Regions from separate parts of the Homo sapiens genome. Here regions 1, 2, 3, 4, 5 and 6 are each linked to region 7. Evidence: promoter capture Hi-C in 16 types of primary human blood cells and fetal thymus (Javierre and others, 2016). All regions are on one chromosome and are shown on one strand. Each heading gives the region's core, a stretch centred on a gene start or on the middle of the fragment in contact. The rest is flanking DNA. Distances are from core to core; before and after follow the strand shown.

The links. The method cuts DNA at HindIII sites, captures the fragments that hold promoters and counts their contacts. A CHiCAGO score of 5 or more calls a contact.
Region 1: a contact is called between a fragment that was not itself captured here and the fragment with the promoter of GRID1 in region 7, in 1 of 17 cell types (endothelial precursors). The highest score is 6.5, in endothelial precursors.
Region 2: a contact is called between a fragment that was not itself captured here and the fragment with the promoter of GRID1 in region 7, in 3 of 17 cell types (naive B cells, total B cells and total CD4 T cells). The highest score is 10.0, in naive B cells.
Region 3: a contact is called between a fragment that was not itself captured here and the fragment with the promoter of GRID1 in region 7, in 5 of 17 cell types (total B cells, naive CD8 T cells, non-activated CD4 T cells and 2 more). The highest score is 7.6, in total B cells.
Region 4: a fragment that was not itself captured here is called in contact with the fragment with the promoter of GRID1 in region 7 in 2 of 17 cell types (endothelial precursors and total CD4 T cells); the score reaches 7.8 in endothelial precursors.
Region 5: a contact is called between a fragment that was not itself captured here and the fragment with the promoter of GRID1 in region 7, in 5 of 17 cell types (endothelial precursors, non-activated CD4 T cells, total B cells and 2 more). The highest score is 9.9, in endothelial precursors.
Region 6: a contact is called between a fragment that was not itself captured here and the fragment with the promoter of GRID1 in region 7, in 1 of 17 cell types (endothelial precursors). The highest score is 5.6, in endothelial precursors.

What each region holds. Positions count from the first base shown.
Region 1 is chr10:84,797,955-84,800,654 of GRCh38, forward strand. No RefSeq gene overlaps it. Among named protein-coding and RNA genes, the nearest start is that of LINC01519, 400 kb to the right of the region's middle. The HindIII fragment of the contact is 8,386 bases long and covers 1-2,700 here.
Region 2 is chr10:84,396,002-84,398,701 of GRCh38, forward strand. All of the region lies in intron 3 of CCSER2 (coiled-coil serine rich protein 2), which reads left to right. Among named protein-coding and RNA genes, the nearest start is that of CCSER2, 69 kb to the left of the region's middle. The HindIII fragment of the contact is 156 bases long and covers 1,174-1,329 here.
Region 3 is chr10:84,519,205-84,521,904 of GRCh38, forward strand. No RefSeq gene overlaps it. Among named protein-coding and RNA genes, the nearest start is that of CCSER2, 190 kb to the left of the region's middle. The HindIII fragment of the contact is 4,470 bases long and covers 1-2,700 here.
Region 4 is chr10:84,660,551-84,663,270 of GRCh38, forward strand. No RefSeq gene overlaps it. Among named protein-coding and RNA genes, the nearest start is that of CCSER2, 330 kb to the left of the region's middle. The HindIII fragment of the contact is 2,160 bases long and covers 369-2,528 here.
Region 5 is chr10:84,591,783-84,594,482 of GRCh38, forward strand. No RefSeq gene overlaps it. Among named protein-coding and RNA genes, the nearest start is that of CCSER2, 260 kb to the left of the region's middle. The HindIII fragment of the contact is 4,549 bases long and covers 1-2,700 here.
Region 6 is chr10:84,678,655-84,681,354 of GRCh38, forward strand. No RefSeq gene overlaps it. Among named protein-coding and RNA genes, the nearest start is that of CCSER2, 350 kb to the left of the region's middle. The HindIII fragment of the contact is 5,451 bases long and covers 1-2,700 here.
Region 7 is chr10:86,365,472-86,368,171 of GRCh38, forward strand. It overlaps GRID1 (glutamate ionotropic receptor delta type subunit 1), which reads right to left and starts at 1,324. Exons shown (of 16, transcript NM_017551.3): 1 at 843-1,324. The coding sequence starts at 921. RefSeq lists silencers at 633-782, 813-1,012, 1,243-1,292, 1,313-1,702, 1,813-2,022. The HindIII fragment of the contact is 11,562 bases long and covers 1-2,700 here.

The sequences.
Region 1 (2,700 bases), core at 92-2,591, 1.6 Mb before region 7:
CTGGAGGGTGGCTGATGCAATTATTAAATATATTATTTGTAAAGTACTAGCACTGTGTCTGATGTTCAAAGGATGAGAGCTTCTTAGTATTTTCTCCCTCTTTTCCTTCCCTTCTGCTTTCGTATGTGTGTGTGTGCCTCAGAGAGAAAGAGTAGTAACTCACTCAGTTGGAAAAGAAAGCTGAAAAAACACAAAAAACAAAACACAGCGATTGCCTTGGCTTCAGGCATTTCAACCTATAGCTTTAACAATTTTGCTCCTGAAAGTGACCATTTCTTTTAGCTAAACTGACTGTATGGAGCAGAGGCTTTGACATTAGGTACAAGAATAGGTAGAAGAGTGTTACTGCTGGTAAGGGCTCATTTTGCCTTGTAAAATAGATGTGAGTGCAGCCTTTTCTGGGCAGAACTAGATGTGGTCCCTGGACAGACCCCAGGCTGCATGTGAAAACTGCAGCACTGTTTTTTCCCTTTCCCCTCTCGGTGCTCTCCATCCTCATAGAAATGGTGGTTGTGCTGCTGCACCTGGATTTTGTTACCGTGGTTACAGATGCAGTCCCTGGTGGAGAAGGGGAGGGAGCCGTATTTTTATAAGGGCAAATTGTACTGACATTTAGATTGGAGGCATCACAATGAAGAACGACTGCTGGAGAATGGATGAGCATGTGTTCCCTTTGCAAGTGGGATGTTGGGAAGACTCCTGCCTCCTGCCCTTTCTCAATGTTTGTGTGTGTGTAGCGGGGAGGAAGGGGTGTGGACTCAGCCCCTAACATATTCAGAGGACCAAGATTCTGGTCGGGAATAGAAAAAGAGCCTTTTTCAGTGAGATTTTGAGGGGTCAGGGCTGAATTAGAAGTTTCTCAACAGATGCTGTAAATTATATCAAACCATAGTCCGATCTGAATAGAAAGCCAAATCCCCAAAGCCTAAAGGAAATGGGAAGGGTAGCCAAATGTAAAGAGCTGGCAATGATGTGGCAGAGAGGGAGTCAGCAGTCTGAGGATGAGGGAGACAGGAGCAGTACACGGTGCGCAGATTAGAGCCTTACCTGTGGAAGAGACTCATGTTTGCAGCCTGCTTCTTGGGAGTGGTGCCTGCGTGGGCTGGTGGAACTTATTTACTAGGGGGAATCTAGCTGAAGGATGCCTATGTCATTTGGGACATGGAAGAGCCAACCAGGCTGCTGAGCTGGGGCTTCTTCCCCATCCTTACAGAAAATGATGTTTTTAAGGATAAATCGGTTGCAAAAGTTTTCTTCTGATCAGTAACAGGCTTAATGTATATAAAACGTCTCCATTCACAGAAGTGCAATTGTCACTGGATCTTCCAGTTTTCCTTGTTGGTTAGCCAATCAGTCAGTTAGTCAAAAACATCTACGAAGTTTTCACTTCATGCCAGGGCTAAAGGGCTCAAGGTGCCTAAGGTTGAAATGCTATTTTTTTTTTCAATTTTTAATTTCTGATAATTTCAACTTTTATTTGAGATTCAGGGGTACGTGTGCAGGTTTGTTACATGGGTATATTGTGTAATGCTGAGGTTTGAATGATTGATCCTGTCACCCAAGTAGTGAGCTTAGAACCTAGTAGTTTTTCCATCCTTGCCTCCTCCCTCCCCCTCTTGTAGCCCCCAGTGTCAACTGCTGCCATCTTTATGTTCATAGTACCCAATACTTAGGTCCTGCTAAGTAAGAACATGCAGTATTTGGTTTTCTGTTCTTGTGTTAATTTGCTTAGAATAATGGCCTCCAGCTACATCCATGTTGCTGCAAAGGACATTATTTTGTTCTTTTTTATGGCTGCAGAGTATTCCATGATGTATATGTACCACATTTTCTTTATCCAGTCCACCATTGACGGGCACGTAGGTTGATTCAATATGCTTGCTATTGTGAATAGTGCTGTGCTGAACATGTGTGTGCATGTGTCTTTTTGGTAGAATGATTTATTTTCTTTTTGGCATATACCCAGTAATGGGATTGCTGAGTCAAATGTTAGCTCTGTTTTAAGTTCTTTCAAAAATCTCCAAACTGCTTTTCACAGTGGCTGAGCTAGTTTACATCTCCACCAACAGTATTTAAGCATTCCTTTTTCTCTGCAGCTTCACCAGCATCTGTTGTTTTTAATAATAGCTTTCTGACTGGTGTGAGATGGTATCTCTGAAATGCTATTCTTTTGTTCAACCTCAGTACCCTCACCTTAACTCAGCATCCACACTCAGAATTTAAGCATACTCTCCCTAAGGACAGGAATTGGGTTACAGGATATCGGAGAATGACAAACACAGAGTCGTGGAAAAAGTCTTTGATTGGCTATTGATCTAGCCTTGGCCTTCAAGCAGGCAGATGTTCACGGGCTCCTTGGAGCCCCTGTGCCAGTTGCCAACTCAGCCAGCCAAGAGTCCAGGACTGTGTAGATAGAGGGGCTGCTTTGTCCACTCTTAACTTGTATTTCTGATATTGTGGAAATTAACTGGAACTGCTTAACATGAATACTTGGAGAGATGAAGAACTTGTGTCTTCCATGTTCCCATTGGTCAGTCTGGAGAGAATGTATTTACCAACTTGTGTGTATAGACGAAGTGATATAGACTTCTGTTTGTATGTTCTGTGTATACATTTAAGTGGGCGCCTGCATGTGTTCATGAGTGCAAATGTGTGTGTGTGCACTTACATACGTACATAAGTAAAAGGCTTCTGGATTTG
Region 2 (2,700 bases), core at 2-2,501, 2.0 Mb before region 7:
TTCTATATTTATTTCTGTATCCATTTCCGTATATATTAAAGACCAAGAGCTCACACGGATACCTTTGACTCCAATCAAATGCCACAGAATTTGTTCTAGCCTTTCTTCTTATTTTTAAGCCTTTTCTCAGAAAGTGAGAAACTTGGTTTCTCAACCACAATATATTTTCTTAGTTATTCAACACTGTGTGTGTGTGTGTGTGTGTGTGTGTGTGTGTGTATAAGGATTATAGTATATATTCATACATAGTTATAGATATAGTATATATAGTATATTATATACCATAACTATACTATATTTATACTATATTATATACACACAGTTTCAGAATTGCTAACTTACACCCTATGAAAAAGATTTACTAACTTACAATATTTGTTTAGCATTTTTTTTTTAAACCTTAACCTTACAGAATACAATAAGTACTGTTTTCCAAGTTTACTTACGTTAGTTGTTTTAGTTCTCAATCCTTTCAGCGTGATTGTATTATTCATTTGTAATACTTTTAGGTTCATTTGTTGCTGTTTGTATTTCGTTTTGGGTTCTGCCCACATCGTGGTTTATTTAAAGTACTCATTTATTTCATGTTACTTCATAGAGATCTTCCCTTTTCTTCTTTTTAAAAAAATATTTTATTTTTAAATTTTAACCTATGTATGTATTTGTTTGTTTATTTTGAGACTGGGTTATGAGACTGGCTAATTTTTGTATTTTTGGTAGAGATGGGGTTTCACCATGTTGCCAAGGCTGGTCTTGAACTCCTGGGCTTAAGTGATCGACCCGTCTTGGCCTTCCAAAGTGTCGGGATTACAGGCGTGAGCCACCACACCTGGCCGAGATCATCCTTATTCTTTTTGTACCGCTGTATACTACTTATTTTGTAGATTGTGCATTGTTTATTCAATTACTCTCCCAACAATGGGCATCAAGATTGTTTCCAATATTTTACAGTTATAAACTGCCGTAATGACTATGCTAGTATAGAGCAGTATTATTTTTGTAATTTAGATAAAAAAACACATCTACCACCTTACTTGTGTCCATACCAGCTCCTATTCAGTTGTGTAGAAACTTCTGCATATAAAAGTGCTAGTCAGTATTACTATATGAAAGTTGCTATGCATGGTATTCTATTTTCCTAGAACATTCCAGTGACTTTCTACTCTTACCTAAAGCTTACTGGTAAATCTTAAGTGCATTGATTAATAAATCTCTGGTATTACCATAATCTACTCATAAAATCATCCTATGATATTTTTATTACCACCTCCCCCAAAGTATAATGTCCTTAAGATATGAAATTCTGCAGTAAAACAGAACAAAAAGAAAAGCTTTTAAAAAATGTTACTGAAACTTCATTTGATGTAATATACAAAAATGTGATGGGGCTGTCCTCAGGTTAAATGGGCACTGATGGATGCACTGTAACTTGACTGGTTTGAGGACAGAAAATTGAACCTAAAATAAGGAAATTCTGACTGCTAAAGGAATTGAGGTCACTCAATACATTCATTTTCTCTCATCTAACAAAAAGACTACACATACCACTAATGCACTTGGCATTTTGATTTATTAAATATATATGTTAACTGAAGTCTGCCACCGACTGTTATAATCAGTATAGCTGAAATTACTCATCTGAAGCCTGTGAAGGCTGAAGTAAAAAAGTAAATTTTAAAAGGCTTAAGTAAAGTCCAGTCAAGCAAAACTTGATTTGAGCTTACTGCTGAGGTCTACAACATATTACATTACTGCAACCATTAGAAGTCCCACCAGTCACACCTGACTCTTCTCCTTTTTCAGGTGCTAATGTGCTTCTGTAGTGGCCTATTTCTGTTTCAGCCTTTGTAAGGCATCACAGAAAGGAAGGAACAAATATTTAAATTATAGAAAGTGAATGCAGTAAGTATAGGATTGACTCTAAAACAGTAGAAACAAATAAGCCTAATTATAGCATTTGAGAAACAGGGTGTATTCGTTTTCTCTGGCTGCTGTGACAAATTACCACAAATACAATGGCTTAAAACAACACACTGTTTGTTATCTTACTATCCTCTCTAGCTTACAAGTCAGACACATGTCTCTGCAGGCTAAAATCAAGATGTCAGCAGGGCTAGGTGCCTTCCTGGAGACTCGAGGGAAGAATCCATTTCCCTGTCTTTTCCACCTTCTAAAAACTGCCTTTGGTTCATGACTTCCTTCCTCTGTCTTCAAACCGAGCAACACCGCACCTCTTTGACCATTCTCCTTCTGTCTGTCTTCTGCCTCCCTCTTCCATTCTGAGTGATTATTATACATTGGGCCCCCTCAGATAATCCAGGATAATACCTCTATTTTAAGGTCAGCTGACTGGCAACCATAATTCCCTCTTTGCTATGTAAGCTATCATATTTACAGGGATTATTCTGCTTATCAGGAAAATTATTTCATTTCTCTGAAACTCCTGTTTTTATTGTAGTAGAATTCTTAAAATATTTTGAGAAGCCATAATTTTAGCATGGAGACACGCCAAAATGAAACAATATTTGTTTGTGCCTTTTGAAAGGAGCTACATGCTTTCCTACTCATTTCTTCCTCTTTATTTCTCAGATTTTGAATTTATTCCTGTTTATTTTTAAAGTTCCTGGGTGTTAAGGTAGGTTTGTTCCAGGGAAGGATAGAGAAAAATCTAAGATCATTTCTTGAGAGCAGAAGAGAAAT
Region 3 (2,700 bases), core at 46-2,545, 1.8 Mb before region 7:
TCGGCTAAATCGGGGTTCTTGTGTCAGGACCAGGAAAATGTAGACACATGGACACATTGAAGTGTGTGGGGAATGGAATTCATTGGGCAAAAAGGAAAAAAAAACTCAGCAAAGCAAGGGGGGAATCCTGCTAACAGGCCCCCACCTCACAGATAAGTTCCAGGCCACCACACATGTGAGCTGAAGAGCTCAGGCTCTTCCCTCCTGCCCAAGGCTGGAACTTCCCGTGGCTCCACCCAGTTCTCCCAGTGCACAAGCTGGTTGGAGATTCTCTGAGGACCCTCCCCCTTATTGGCCTTCTGCATCTATCATTAGCAAGTACTTTCTTATACTAAAAATTTTCCCTTTTAATTTTGTCATTAAGTGTAGTCATTTCAGTTTCTTCATTTATGCTGTTGATTGCGCGTTTTCCATTGTGAAAATATTTTATCCCTACAGAAAAGACAAGCATGAGTTAAAGAATTGACTTCTTCCTCTGTTAACTTGGTTTAAGTAAGTTTGATGGGATGTCTTACCTGTGTCACTTGCTGTGCTGGCTGCAGGGTGTACAAAGGTAACGATGATACAGGTTCTGCCTTATGGAGCTTAGGAACCCTAGGGGATTTTTAACATCATCCGATCCATTGCAGCACTGAGCCCTTCCCTTGCATTCCCTGTTTATTATCTTCCTTTGAACCTACCAGTCTCTTTTGACGTTTCCTCTTCAGTTTCATTTCATTCTGGGCTTTAACTCCCTTGCACTATTCTCCTCTTGGATTCTATATTATGTTTATTCTTGTTTGGTTGCATGCCTTCATTTCCCTAGAAAACCTGGCCTTTTATTATTTTATCCAAGAACGAACTTCCTCTTTAGCCACTATTAAATACTCTGCTTTCTACTTTAGGTTCTTGGAATTTGATTTTAAGACTTCTCGACTATCCTAAGGCCACTGTCCCTTTTAGAACCTCAACCCATAAGATGTTGCTTTCTGAAGTCTACCTTTAACATTCAAATTCATGTCCGGGCTTTTCCTTCCATCCCATTCTCTTGGATAGATCAAATATAATATGGTCTACTTGATGTTTTCAGTTTCTATTTTAATTTTTAATTTTTATGGATATATAATAATTATACATATTTATTAAATACCTGTTATTTCGATACAAGCATACACTATAATCTGTGTAATTGGGATATCCATTGCCTCATTTATTTCTTTGTGCTAGGAATATTTCAATACTACTCTTCTGGTTATTTTGAAATATACAATAAATTATTGTTAACTATGGTCACTGTACTGTGCTACTGAACACTAGGTCCTATTCATTCTAACTGTATTTTTGTACCCATTAACCATCCCCTCTTTATCCCACCTCCCCACCACCCTTTCCAGCCTTTGGTAACCACTATTCTACTCTCTACCTCTGTTAGATCATTTCTTTTTTATCTTCCACATGAGTGAGAATGTGCAACATTTGTCTTCCTGTATGTGGCTTATTTCACATAATGACCTCCAGTTTCATTCATGTTGTTGCTGGTTTCCTACCATTTCTTGCCATGGAGTCTCTAAGGAGGAATTTAGGTCATCCAGAGAAGCCTTTTCCTCACTGATGAATTCTCCCACCCACCCATGCACACAGCCCTCAAATTAGCATCTTTTCTGTGCAAAAATCAGAGAGGAAGAAACAGTTCCTCACAGGCACTTCTCTGGTTTCTCAACCTGAAAAATGGTATTGCTACTTTCCAGATCTCAAAACAACCCACTCCTTAATCCTCACATGAATTCATTCAGACACCCATTTTGAGTATGAATAATCCTTTGGTAATACTTTAAGTGATTACAGAACAAATGCTTTCTGCAGCAAAAGTATACCTGAAATATCAGTCTACTAAAGTGAAAGGTAACTATTCCCCACAAGAAACATGGTTGAAATGCTTGTTTTGTGCACAGCCCTCGTTTCTGTCTCGTGGCAGGAGGTGGATGAGACGGAGACCCTGCGATTGAAGAGATCAAATTGCAACATGACAAGAAGGATCCCAAACAAAGCACTGTAAGAGAGCCAGTGGGCAGGAAGGGGACGTTTGGGACCACAGGTGAACTCGCTTCCAAAACCATTCATCCTTGACAAATGTGCATGTGTGTTAGGATTTCTTTTTAATTACAGCTAAATAAAAACTAGGCCACTATCACATAACCTGTAGTGGTAACGATACATTCCACGAACCTGAGGCCTTTTTAAGCACGTATCAGTTCAAAATACTTCTGAATTATCAGGAATTTAAAAAATTTTCACAAGTTTTAGCTGAGGTTTTGCATTTATAGTAGGTCAAGTGCAAATGTGAATTGCAATGAAAAACAAAAGTAATAGGAGTTGTGATGGATTGTTAATGCAAATGGTTTCTTAAATTGTGTTCCAGAGTTTTGCTGAGATGCAAACACAGATGCTCTAAACTCCCTGCTGCCAGGGGCCGCCTCCACCAGGTTCAAAGATTCAGGACTAGTCAGAGCTCACAGGAGGTGTTTGGGAAAGGGTTTGGGCCAGACCTGGGCACTCAGAACCCTGGTCCTTGGTCTGACTACTCTCATTCTAAGAAAAATTTCAACTAAGGGAAGGAAAGCAGAGCACACAGTGCTTTCCTGCCTTTCAGAGCTCGTAAAGAATTCAAGGGGGAAGCAAAGGAGACCATGGACTTAGAACTATTTGTGAATATTACAAGAA
Region 4 (2,720 bases), core at 199-2,698, 1.7 Mb before region 7:
CATAGAGTAGACCATGCGCTCTGTTCTTGGCAAGTGAGTTGTTGCTGAGTTACTGAAAGTCAGCTCCTCTCCTGTCCTGCTATGAAGCATCGACCGGTCGCTGGCTGTTTTTAACACAAGCAAGCTCCACTTCTTTCTGAGGCTCCTCTGACGAGGTAGGGAGTGCAGCACCAGGCAGGCCCTCATCTTTCTCTGAGATTTACTGAGTCAGGGAGAGCATAGGGCAGCCCGCGTGGGGAGGGCTGAAAGTGCCCAGGCTCCTGGAGAAGAGATGAGGCACTGTGTAGGATTCGGGGCAGGGCAGAACTTTTCATTGCTGTGGCTCTTCTGGCTTTAGGGCTATCTGTAACAGAGCAGACTAAAGTGAAAGCTTTATAGGAAAGGGTTTATTTGAAAAGAACTGGTTGAGAGGAAGTGAGGTGTGAGCAAGTTCCAGGAAGATAAGTCTGGGCTGTGAAGAACCCAAGTTAAGAGCACCAAGGCAAGCAGGTCAGAGCCTGAATCTCAGGCCAATATTTTCCTTCAGGGCCGCCTTGTCCTGGGTTCATCTTTAGATGAGTTGCTCAGAGCTGGATTTTTCTTCCTCTTCCTGTCCCCACCCCTCCACTTACCAGCTTCTGGGTCTCTTTCTGGCCACTCTAACAACCAAACCATCTCACTATCACGTTTGTAAAGATGTCAGATAAACCCTAAATAAAGAAAAGCCTTTGATGCATAAAACATCAGGACTCCAGCCTCAGCTTTCCCTACCTGGGCATTGTGTAAAGGAGGAGAAGGTAGCCGGAGCCAGACAGTACATTGCTCTCCAGCAGAATGAATAGCAGCTGCAGAGCAGCAGCTGCAGCTCACACCTCCTGACGCCCCAATGAGTGTCCTTTCCACTACACAAAGGTCATTTTGAATGACTTTGGGGGTGTCAGATTACTTTTATTTTATTTAAAACCAGAAAATAACTTCCACTTCTGGGAACATATGAGTGAAGTGGAAACTCATGTAATGAGAGTTAGGAAAAGAGCTTGCGACAGTGGAATCGAGGACTTTCATCTGGAAGGAATGATCCTGCCTTTGAAGAGGCAGTTGTAGGAAGGTTTGATGTAGGCCAGATATGGAGAGTTCTGAGAATGAGTGGCAGAGTGACCAACTTAGACAGTCAGTTCAGTTCAGTCCAGCCATCATTTATTCAAGACCCAGCACAGGCCAGGAGCTGGGAAGGTGCCGGGCACATACAGAGAAGGCTAAGACATGGCTCTGCTATCGAGGAGCTCACATGCTTGTGGGAGAGCCAGAAATCAAAGAATTGCCCAAATGCAATGTGTGGTGAAAGCTCAGATGTCAGTATGTGAGGGTTGCTAAGGGAACAGAAAAGGAGACGTACTGCATCTGCTAGGGCTCAGAGGATGCATAGATGTCAGTACAATGCACAGTGCATGGGGAACTGCATACCTTTGGTCTAGGTGGGGCATAATGTGCAAGGTGGGGAGTGGGAAGTGGAAGATCTGAGAGTTTCCTGAAATCCAGATGACACGGGTCCTTTGAGGCTGTCATAAAGTGCTTAAAAATGGAAATCTACCCACAAGTTTTAAGCAGGGTGATAAATGAATCAGATTTGTGTTTGGTAGCTCCTTCTGGAACTATGTGTAGGGGGCATTCAAAAGAACAAAATCAGAAATGGACACCAATGAGGAGATGGCAGCAATCCTCAGGCAGGGGAGGCCGAGATGGACTGGAAAATATTTAAGAGGTAAAAGTTAGAAGGTGGCATGATAGGATGGTTGTTAGGAGAGAAGGAGCAGCTTACTTTCATGACTTATGGGCAATGTGGAAGGTGTTGTCATTGGCTGGGGTAAGGACTATTTAGTTTCACAAATGGAGACCTGTGGAGATGATGAAGGCTGAACACACATTTAAGGATTTTAGGGACATCCAGAGGAAAATTTCAAAGAATGAGTAAGATCTGATGTTTAGGAGAGAAGTCAAAACTGGAGCTAGAGATTTTGAAATATGCAGCCATGTATGAAGATAAAGTCTCCCAGAGAGGGTCTAGCATGTAAGAAGAACAGTGAGTCAGAAGCAAAACTCTTGGAACCCTAAACTTTAAGTTTAGGGTTAAACAGTAAGAGTAAGAGGGTTCCATGCAAGAGTAAGAGTAAGAGGGTTTCATGACTAGCAGGGCTAGTCATGAGGGGCTAGTCAGAGGGGAACCATGAAGGATTGGAGGGTGGGCTATTGTAGCAAGGGCCAGAATGGGGAATGGAAGTGCTGGAATAAAAAATAATGGTTGTTAGTGCCAGGTACAGAGGGGAGTTAAAGACAGGGAAGGACTGGGCTCGCTGGAGTGGGAATGGAAGTCTGGTTGCAGGAAGTTGAGAGTTGAATGAGATGCTGTGCAGACTGAGTTAGGCCACACTTTGTAGAAGTTCTAGTGAAAAGAGAAGAAGAATCTTACTAGAGGGAACACAACACCAGGGTTTTATTCTTGGGGTGGGGGAGGAGGAAAATAACATACCTATTTATAGAATGAGTACAGAAGCTTGGTGGAGTGGGCGGCTGAGGGTAGAGGAAGGGAAATTGATGGCGGGAGGACTTAGAAGATGCAGAGGGTGGACAGAGAGAACCTTTAGCCTTGGATAAAAAGGGGAACGGAGGGAAGGGGCCAGTTCTGGGTGTGGACCTACATCAGTTTATAGGTGACAGGAGCTAGAAGTCGAGGGAAATGATGC
Region 5 (2,700 bases), core at 29-2,528, 1.8 Mb before region 7:
GCATGCCAGGCTAATTTTTGTATTTTTTTTAGGGATGGTTGTCTCACTATGTTGCCCAGGCTGGTCTTGAACTCCTGGCCTCAAGCAATCATCCTGTCTTGGCGTCCGAATATCCTGGGATTACAGGCGTGAGCCACCACACCCAGCCTGGCCTCTGAGTTCTTAAAGGCAGCTCTGACTACTCTCTGTGTTCTCATAGCTCAGAGCAGTGCCTGGTCCACTCTTGGGAGGTGCTCCATAGATAGTGAATTTGTTAAACACTGGAAGCAGCATGGCTTTATTTACATTTATTATAAGCCATGAGAAGAGCCTGGCAAACTTTCTTAAATAAAACTAAATTGTCTTTCATGAAAACTCACTTCTGAGAGCCACAGGTAAATATGTGTTTGTTTATTTAAGATGAAAACGTGATTCTCTTGACTGTGAGTGCTAACCCAGAAGGCTGATTAATATCAGCTACACTCAATCAATCAATCATAATTTGAACACTTTACTTCTTGAAAATGGAGTTTCTTTCAAGAAAAAAATATTGAAATAGGTATTGTTTATTTAAGACTTAGCCCTAAACATAAAAAACAATCTTGCAATTTTAGTTGACCGTTAACTTAATGTGAGCTCCTGTGTGATGTGACTGTTAGGAATATACCGTGAATGTAGGCTGCATGAGGAGAAATGGACATGCTTTTGTGGTAGAGACTTTTATCTTTTTTACTTTACCTTGGAAAATATCTGCTCTGTGATAAGCGGAATAATGCTTCCCCCACCAAAGATCCCCATGCCAATTCCTGGAATTGGTAAGTGTTACCTTACATGGCAAAAAGGACTTTGTGATGAAGATTTAAAAATGTGGTAGGAGAGATTATCCTGAATTACTGTGTGGGCCCAATCTAACCCCGAGTCTCTAAAAGCTGAGAACCTCTCTTGCCTGTGATCAGAGAGATGTGAAAATGGAATAAGGGTCAGAGAGGTGCCATGTTGATGGCTGAAGATGGAGAAGAAATCACAAGTCAAGGGCTGTGGGATCCTCCTGAATCTGGAAAAGGCAGGAAAACTGATTTTCCCCAGAGCCTCCAGGAAAGCGGCTCAGCCCTGCCAGCACTCCAACTTTAGCTCAGTGACCCATGTTGGACTTCTAGCCTAAAGAACTGTAAGATAATAAATGTGTGTTGTTTCAAGCTGCTAACTGTGGTAATTTGTTGTAGTAGCAATAGGAAACTAAGATCACTTCTATTAAATCTTAATTAATCAATATCATGAGGGCAACAAAAAGTAGGGGAAGAACAAATGAATGTTTTCTGAGATCCTCCCTGGAGCACTCAACACACTGACCTTGACCTTTTCTGAATTTCAAACTTCTTGTCATCTGTGCTATTCATTTGGCGTTAGATCATGGGCCATTGTATGTGGTTATAGCCTATCTCTTTGTCAAATAAAGGCCTGTCCCTCCTGCAAGAGGCTTGGTCCTTGGGACCACAGCTCAGTGCCTAACGTGGAGCCTCTTCCCTCTGAAATGTGAGGTGCTCACCCCACATTTGTGTGTGATCCCTATGGTCCCCAGGACCATTAGCATGCACTTAACAATAAAATAGCTTCAATATGTATAGTCTGAATGCTGGTGGCTGTTTACTCCCACAGTGGAGGCAGGATCTCAGCCTTCCATGTATGCTTAGAGATCTTGGAGTTCCTAGGAAAGTCAGGTGGGCTCTCAATCGGCCCAGTCCTTTTGTCCTATTCTGGTCTCCAAGTTGAATTCCTTCTGGCTGTTGCTTGAGAGAGGCCCCTCCACTCCCTCGCCTCCCTGCCCTTTTATAAAGCCCCAATTCTCACTCTGGCTGCTGCTTCCCAGAGCTCTCCAAATAGCATTGCTCCCCAAGGGGCTCCACATTATTGCATATGCTTCTGTCTTCTTGAATTCAAGTGGGCCGTGTGCCAGGGAGAAGTGGGGCCCCCCCCCTTCTGTGCCACTTTTTCATCCAGGCCCCGGGAGCCCCGCCTGTGTCTGGAGCCTCACAGCGTACTCATGAAAGCAACTCTCGGCTTTTACTTGCAGTCACTTTTTCCCTGCAGGGTAAGCTAGAATCAAGCTAGCCTTCATTTGTTCATTTCTATTTTTCGCTCTTGCCTAGAAACCCATGTGCCATCCATGCAAATAAGCCCTAGGACAGGGGAAGGGCTTCTGCTGATGGAAGAGGGAGCTGGCTTGACCCCAAATCCCAATTCGAAAATGGTGAGGACCCAGGTTGTGCCATGCATACCCTAGCGCATGCCAGTAGCTTTCGATCTTTAGAAGCTGATTCCATGAATCCTTTGAATTTTCCTGTTTAAACCTTTTTGCTCATGCCTGAGACCCATGTATAAGATTATCAGACACAAATAGGTTGGGCCAGAAAAAAATGTCAGTTGGAGTCTGCAGATGGCACAGAGAGGAAGACCAAAGCGTGGGTCACACTGGCGAGGCACAGGTGTGTGGGGAGCGCAGGGTGAGAATTAAAAAGTGGCCCCAAGTTCCCGGAGTGGGCTTCATGTCACGGACTTGGTGACCTACCCTGCGTGTGGGTCTATTATTTTATTTTTATTTTTTTGAGACAGAGTCTTGCTCTGTCGCCCAGGCTGCCGTGCAGTGGCGCGATCTCCGCTCTCTGCAAGCTCCACCTCCCGGGTTCACGCCATTCTCCTGCCTCAGCCTTCGGAGTAGCTGGG
Region 6 (2,700 bases), core at 78-2,577, 1.7 Mb before region 7:
AATTACATCACTGCCTTTTCTGGGTCTCCAGTTGCTGATGGCAGATCATGGAACTTCTCAGCCTCCAAAGTTGTGCCAGCCAATTCCTTATTATCTATGTATCTCTCTATCTATTGTTAAAAAGGGAAAACCTTAAGCAAGTTTAAATTTATCAGTTTTTTAAGCAAAAAAAAAAAAAAAAAACCCTCCAACAGCAATGATTCATGAATCGAGCAGCCTTCAGAATGAGAATTTAGGCTTTAAAAACTCCTGTGTGCTGCATGGTCAGGCAGCATTTACGGACAGAAAATGGAAGTGGGGTGAAGAGTACAATGGCCTCCCACAAATTTTATTTAACACTATCTATCTTCTATTGGTTCTGCTTCTCTGAAGAAACCTGACAAATAATGATGTTTATTATGTTCTACTCAATGTTCTGAGCACTTTCCCTATAACAATTATTTAATTGTTATCACAGCCACATGCACTAGGTATCATTGTTAACATTTTCATGTTTCTGTAGAGAAAGCTGAGGCGTAAGAGTTTAAATAATATGCCTAAGGCCATTAGGGGCAGTGAGTGGGGGAGCTGGAATCTGAATCCAGGTTGTCTAGCTTCAGAGCCTAAGCAGTTAGGCATTCTGCTACACTACCAAGCACACTGAGCTCATTCTTTTAAGCAGTAATTCCGAATCTTTGTCTAGTTTATTTGGTGTTTAAGGGAATAGTCCTTAGATGCGTGTGACTTAATGGTAGACCATGTGCTAATTTTTGTAAGCCCAAAGGTACACCTTAAAATTTTTTTTAATTTTGCAAATTGTGACACTTTAGTCCTTTTCCCATGGAATTTCAATTTTAAGTTTTTGAGGTAGACAACCATATAATCTGTGAATATTGTTAATTTGATCATGTTGATGATATTATACCTCTAATTTATTTTTCATATTTTAGTGTATTGGCTCAGACTTCCAGGATGCTCTAATGTAATTTTGATGTCTTTTTTCTTCAGATTTCAATGGGAATGAATGTCTACAGTGGTCCACAGTGTGTAGGATATTAATATTAATTCATAGTTTTGGACAGAGATTCATGACCATAATGAGGGACTCTTTTTCATCACTTACATAGAGTCCTTAATAAGGAATAAATGTTTAGTTCTATCAAATGCCTGTTGGGGGGGTCAAATATGAATATTATCACATATAATTATATTAATTGAATGATTATGTTTGATGATGACGTGTTCTAATTACATCTATTGCTATAAAATGAACTTCCCCAATGGCTGGAAACAATAGCCATGATTTATTTTGCTCATAAATGCAAGTTGACTGGACTCAGTTCAGCAATTTTAGCTGGAGTAGAGAATGGGTAGTGTAGATTGGGGGTGGGGAATGGGACTGGGAGGTAGGGTGCAGTTTCTGTTATAGCTCTAAGGCAGTCTAGGTTAGACCAACCAGCCCAGGTTAGGGGTGGAGGCTTCAAGTCACCCTGATACTGGTAAGAAATCCTTCGGTGGCCTTGGGAGAGAAACAACTCAGCTTCCTTGAGAGATGTGTCAGAGCTCAGGGGAAAGCATCCACCATCCACAGGGTGCAAAAGAGGACTCGAGGCCCAAAACACGGAATGCCTGTTCAGGGAAAGAGTGGCTGGAGGCCAAGGGAGAAACTGGTTTGGGCCCCACAAAAGACTTTGAGGTGCCTGTGGATTGTTGGTGCTTGATCAGGTGGTCGGCACCTTAAAAAGAATCATACTTGACAATTCACTGTGAAGTCAGCGCCGCATACACTCTAGAAAGACAGCGGCAGCCAGCGGGGAATTGTTTTTGCGAATGTTTAGGCTGTAAAGAAGAAATACCTGAATGAATAAGTGAGTAAACGAAAATCACAGAGATAGGACATTTTCCAGAGGGATCCTGTGAGAGCTGTGTCCCTGTCTTTTCTCCAACCTTCAAAGACCAACTCCCTAACATGAAAATGCTTGGCTCAAGCCGGAGGCTGTTTGGGTACAACCTTCTAATTTCATTCCTTAGCTGTGACCTTGAATAAGCTGCTAAATCTGTGCCTCAGCTTCCTCATTTGTGAGATGGGTCAAAAACAGTATCTTCTGTCTAGGAATATGAATAAGGTTTAAATGAATATCTATCTATCTTCTATCTATATCAATCAGCTATCTATTATCTATCTCAATTATCTATCTATCTATCTATCTATCTATCTATCTATCAATCATCTATCTACTGTCTTCCAGCATCATCAGGCACTACATAACCACTTTTGGTTAAGGTTGGTCATTGTTATTTTTTTTTTTTCTGAGACTCTATATACAGTCACTGGATCACTCTAAATCTCTTCTCTAAATATTTCTCATCCAAATCCATCATGTCTCATCAACACCAACTACAACCCTACAGCTGCCTCATAATCCTTAGTCTCCCTGATTCAAACCTCAACTTGGATAATTTTCCATACCAACTATTTGAAAAGCGCAGCTATGCTCTAGTGATTTCCTTATTTTATCAGCTTTCAATCTAAACCCTTTTGCCCTACATTCAAGACTTCATTTCATTCTTTACTATGGAAATATACACACACACACAACATATACATATATACTTAGACACATACACACACAACATCTACACATACACTTAGACACATGCATGCACATACATGTACATATATACTTACACATACATACATGGATGTTCTTACATACACAC
Region 7 (2,700 bases), core at 74-2,573:
CCCCTCCTCCTCTGCGCTTTCATCTTCTCTCCCGGTTCTCTCTCTCTATCCATCTCTTCCCGCTCAGCATCCCCCTACCCCCCGCTGCCCACGCTTCTTCCCTCGGCTCCCACCACCCAGACCGTCTGGGCCCCCAAGACTTGGACCACGCAAAACTCTAGGACTGTCCAGGATGGGGATGCAGTCGCCACAACCAGATACACACGCACTCACACATACACCAAGGGCTACACAGACACACACCGGAGAAGCAGGCAGACACTGTGTCCACTCTAACAGGCTGACAGACAGTCGTGCACGCACCAACACACGCTCAGATGGCCCCACACACCCCAACACCCTCTCACAGTAACACCGACACCGTGCCAGGCGCACACAGCGACACACGCTGACAACACGCACCCACACACATTCACACACGGTTCCGGTCCGGCCTCTTTGATCTTGCCCTGCCAACTTGGCGAGCCCCCCGCTGTACCTCCCCCTGCCCCCCGCTGCTCTGAGCTGCGCAGAAGGGCCCTCCCGACCCGCCGACGGCCCCGCTAAGGGCGCGGGTCTCGACGCGCGTCCATCCCGGTGTTCCCCGAAGCGTCGGCCCTAAGTGTCGGTAGAGGCCGCGGGGCCCCGCGCGGAGATCGGAGCCCCGGGGAGCGGCAAGCAGCCAGCGGGAGCGCGGCGCGGCCGGTGCACAGCTCCTCCGCCGGGCGGCGCGGCGCGGCCCTTCGGGGGAGCACCGCCCGCCGAGCCCCTCGGCCCAGGGAAACGCCAAGTTTGGACGCCGCGCACCCCCTGCCCCGTTGGGGCCCCCGCCCAGCCTCGGCCCGGCCTCCAGCCGCGCTTACCGATGTGGATGATGGAGTCGGCCCGCACCGACACGCACTGGCATATCCAGGGGAGAAGCCACAGCGTCAGCGCTTCCATGTCCCCCGGGCGCGCGGCTCATCCACCCGGGCCCGGGGCGAGGCCGAGGGCAGCGCGAAGCGGGGAGGCGCTGGTCCCGGTGCAGTCCCGGGCCGCTCCCCGGGAGAGCCGAGCCCGCCCGTGCGTCTTCCCCCGCGCGCCCGCCCCTGCGCCCTGCGCCCGCCCCAGCCCAGCCCAGCCCAGCCCAGCGCGGTCGGGCTCCCGCTCCGGCTCCGGTGGCGGCTGCGGCGGTGCTGGCAGCTTGAGCCCAGGCCGGCGCGGCGGGGGCGGCCCGCGGCTGTGGCAGCGGCGCTTCCCGCGGCTAGAGCGGCTTCGGGGGAGGCTGAGGCGGTGGCGGCGGCGGCCGGGCCGGCGTGGCGGCTCTGGGCTGGCTGTGTGTCTGAGCCCCGGCGAGGAGCGAACTGCGGAGGACGCCCCCTCCCCTCCCCCTCCCCCTCAGCTCCGCTCCCCCTCCCCTCCCTGCCCGCCTCCCTCCCCTCCGCCCGCCTCTCTACCACGTGACTGCGGAGCCTCAGCCTCGCCGCGCGGCTCTCGCCCGCTCGCGGCTCGGAGGGGGCGCCGGGTGCTCCACGCTCCCGGCTCGGGGGACGCTCGGAGACCGGCACAGCGGCGGGGACCGGCCTGGGCTGCGGCGCGCCGAGCTCTGACGGTTCGGGCCTCCTTCTCCGGTTCGCCAGGGGCGGGAGAATGGAGGAGGGCCGGCCGCTAACTGCCCTCGAGGGGCTCCCGAAGCGCCCTGGCGACCTCAGCAGCCGCGCGTCTCGGGTCATGTCCCCGGCCGAAACAGACCGTTCCTCGTGGAGTGGGACCTGGGGAGCAAGAAGAGAGACCGGGGCGGGGCGCCGGGCCAGGCCCCAGGACAGCTGGGGAGCCAGAGGGGGCCGGCCGCCGCAAGCATCTCAGAGTAGAGCCCGGGCCGTGGGCTCGAACCCTGGCTGGCCGCGCGGACCTCGGCGGGCGCCCATCCCCCGCTCCATGGGCAGCGCGCTCAGCCGGGAGTCGGGCAAGAGGCTCGGACTCTGAAGCCCAATTCATGGCCGGAAACCAGCGCAGCCGTGACCGCGGCGCCTGGACGTGAGGAGCCTTCCAAGCGGCCGGCGGGCTCAGACTCCGACCCTGCACGGAGCTTTCATGTGCGAGCCCGGGCGAAGAGCCCGCTCCTCGCGGCCACAGCGGAACAGGGCTCCCTCCGCCTCCGGTGCCTGCCTCGGGCCGGCCACCACCAAAGAGAGCGTTAAGCTGTTGTGGGCTCGTGCCTGAAAGGGACTGGGCTCCATGTGGCACCCCCAAGATTTCGAGGAGACAGCTGAGCTTCCTGGGGTCTGGGACCTGGCAGAGCCTCGTTCAAAAGCTGCTCCTCCAGCAAGCCTGGGAACGTCCCCGGGCCCTGTTGTCCGCGGAGGGGCCCCAGGACTCCCGCCACGCACCAGGGGGAGAGGCTCCCACCACAGCCCTTGCCCAGAGCTCCCAGCGCAGTGGGCGAGGCAGACACCCAACCAAGTCATCTTTTAAATGTTGGGGGGGGCTATGAATGAGCTGTGTATGCTCAGATGCCTGGGCTCTGAACCAGCCTGGGAAGAAGAGCAGGGATGACTTCCTGGAGGAGATGACAGTTGTAAAGACTGAGTGGAGGTTCCCAAGGGAGAAAATAAGGCTTCCAGGCATTGAATAGTGGTGAGCCAAGGCAAAAAGAAAGAAGTGTGTGTCTGTATGTCTGTCTGTCTCTCATGTGGCCAGAGCCAAAGAGTAAGCATTGGTAGATTTCACTTTGGAAAGAAA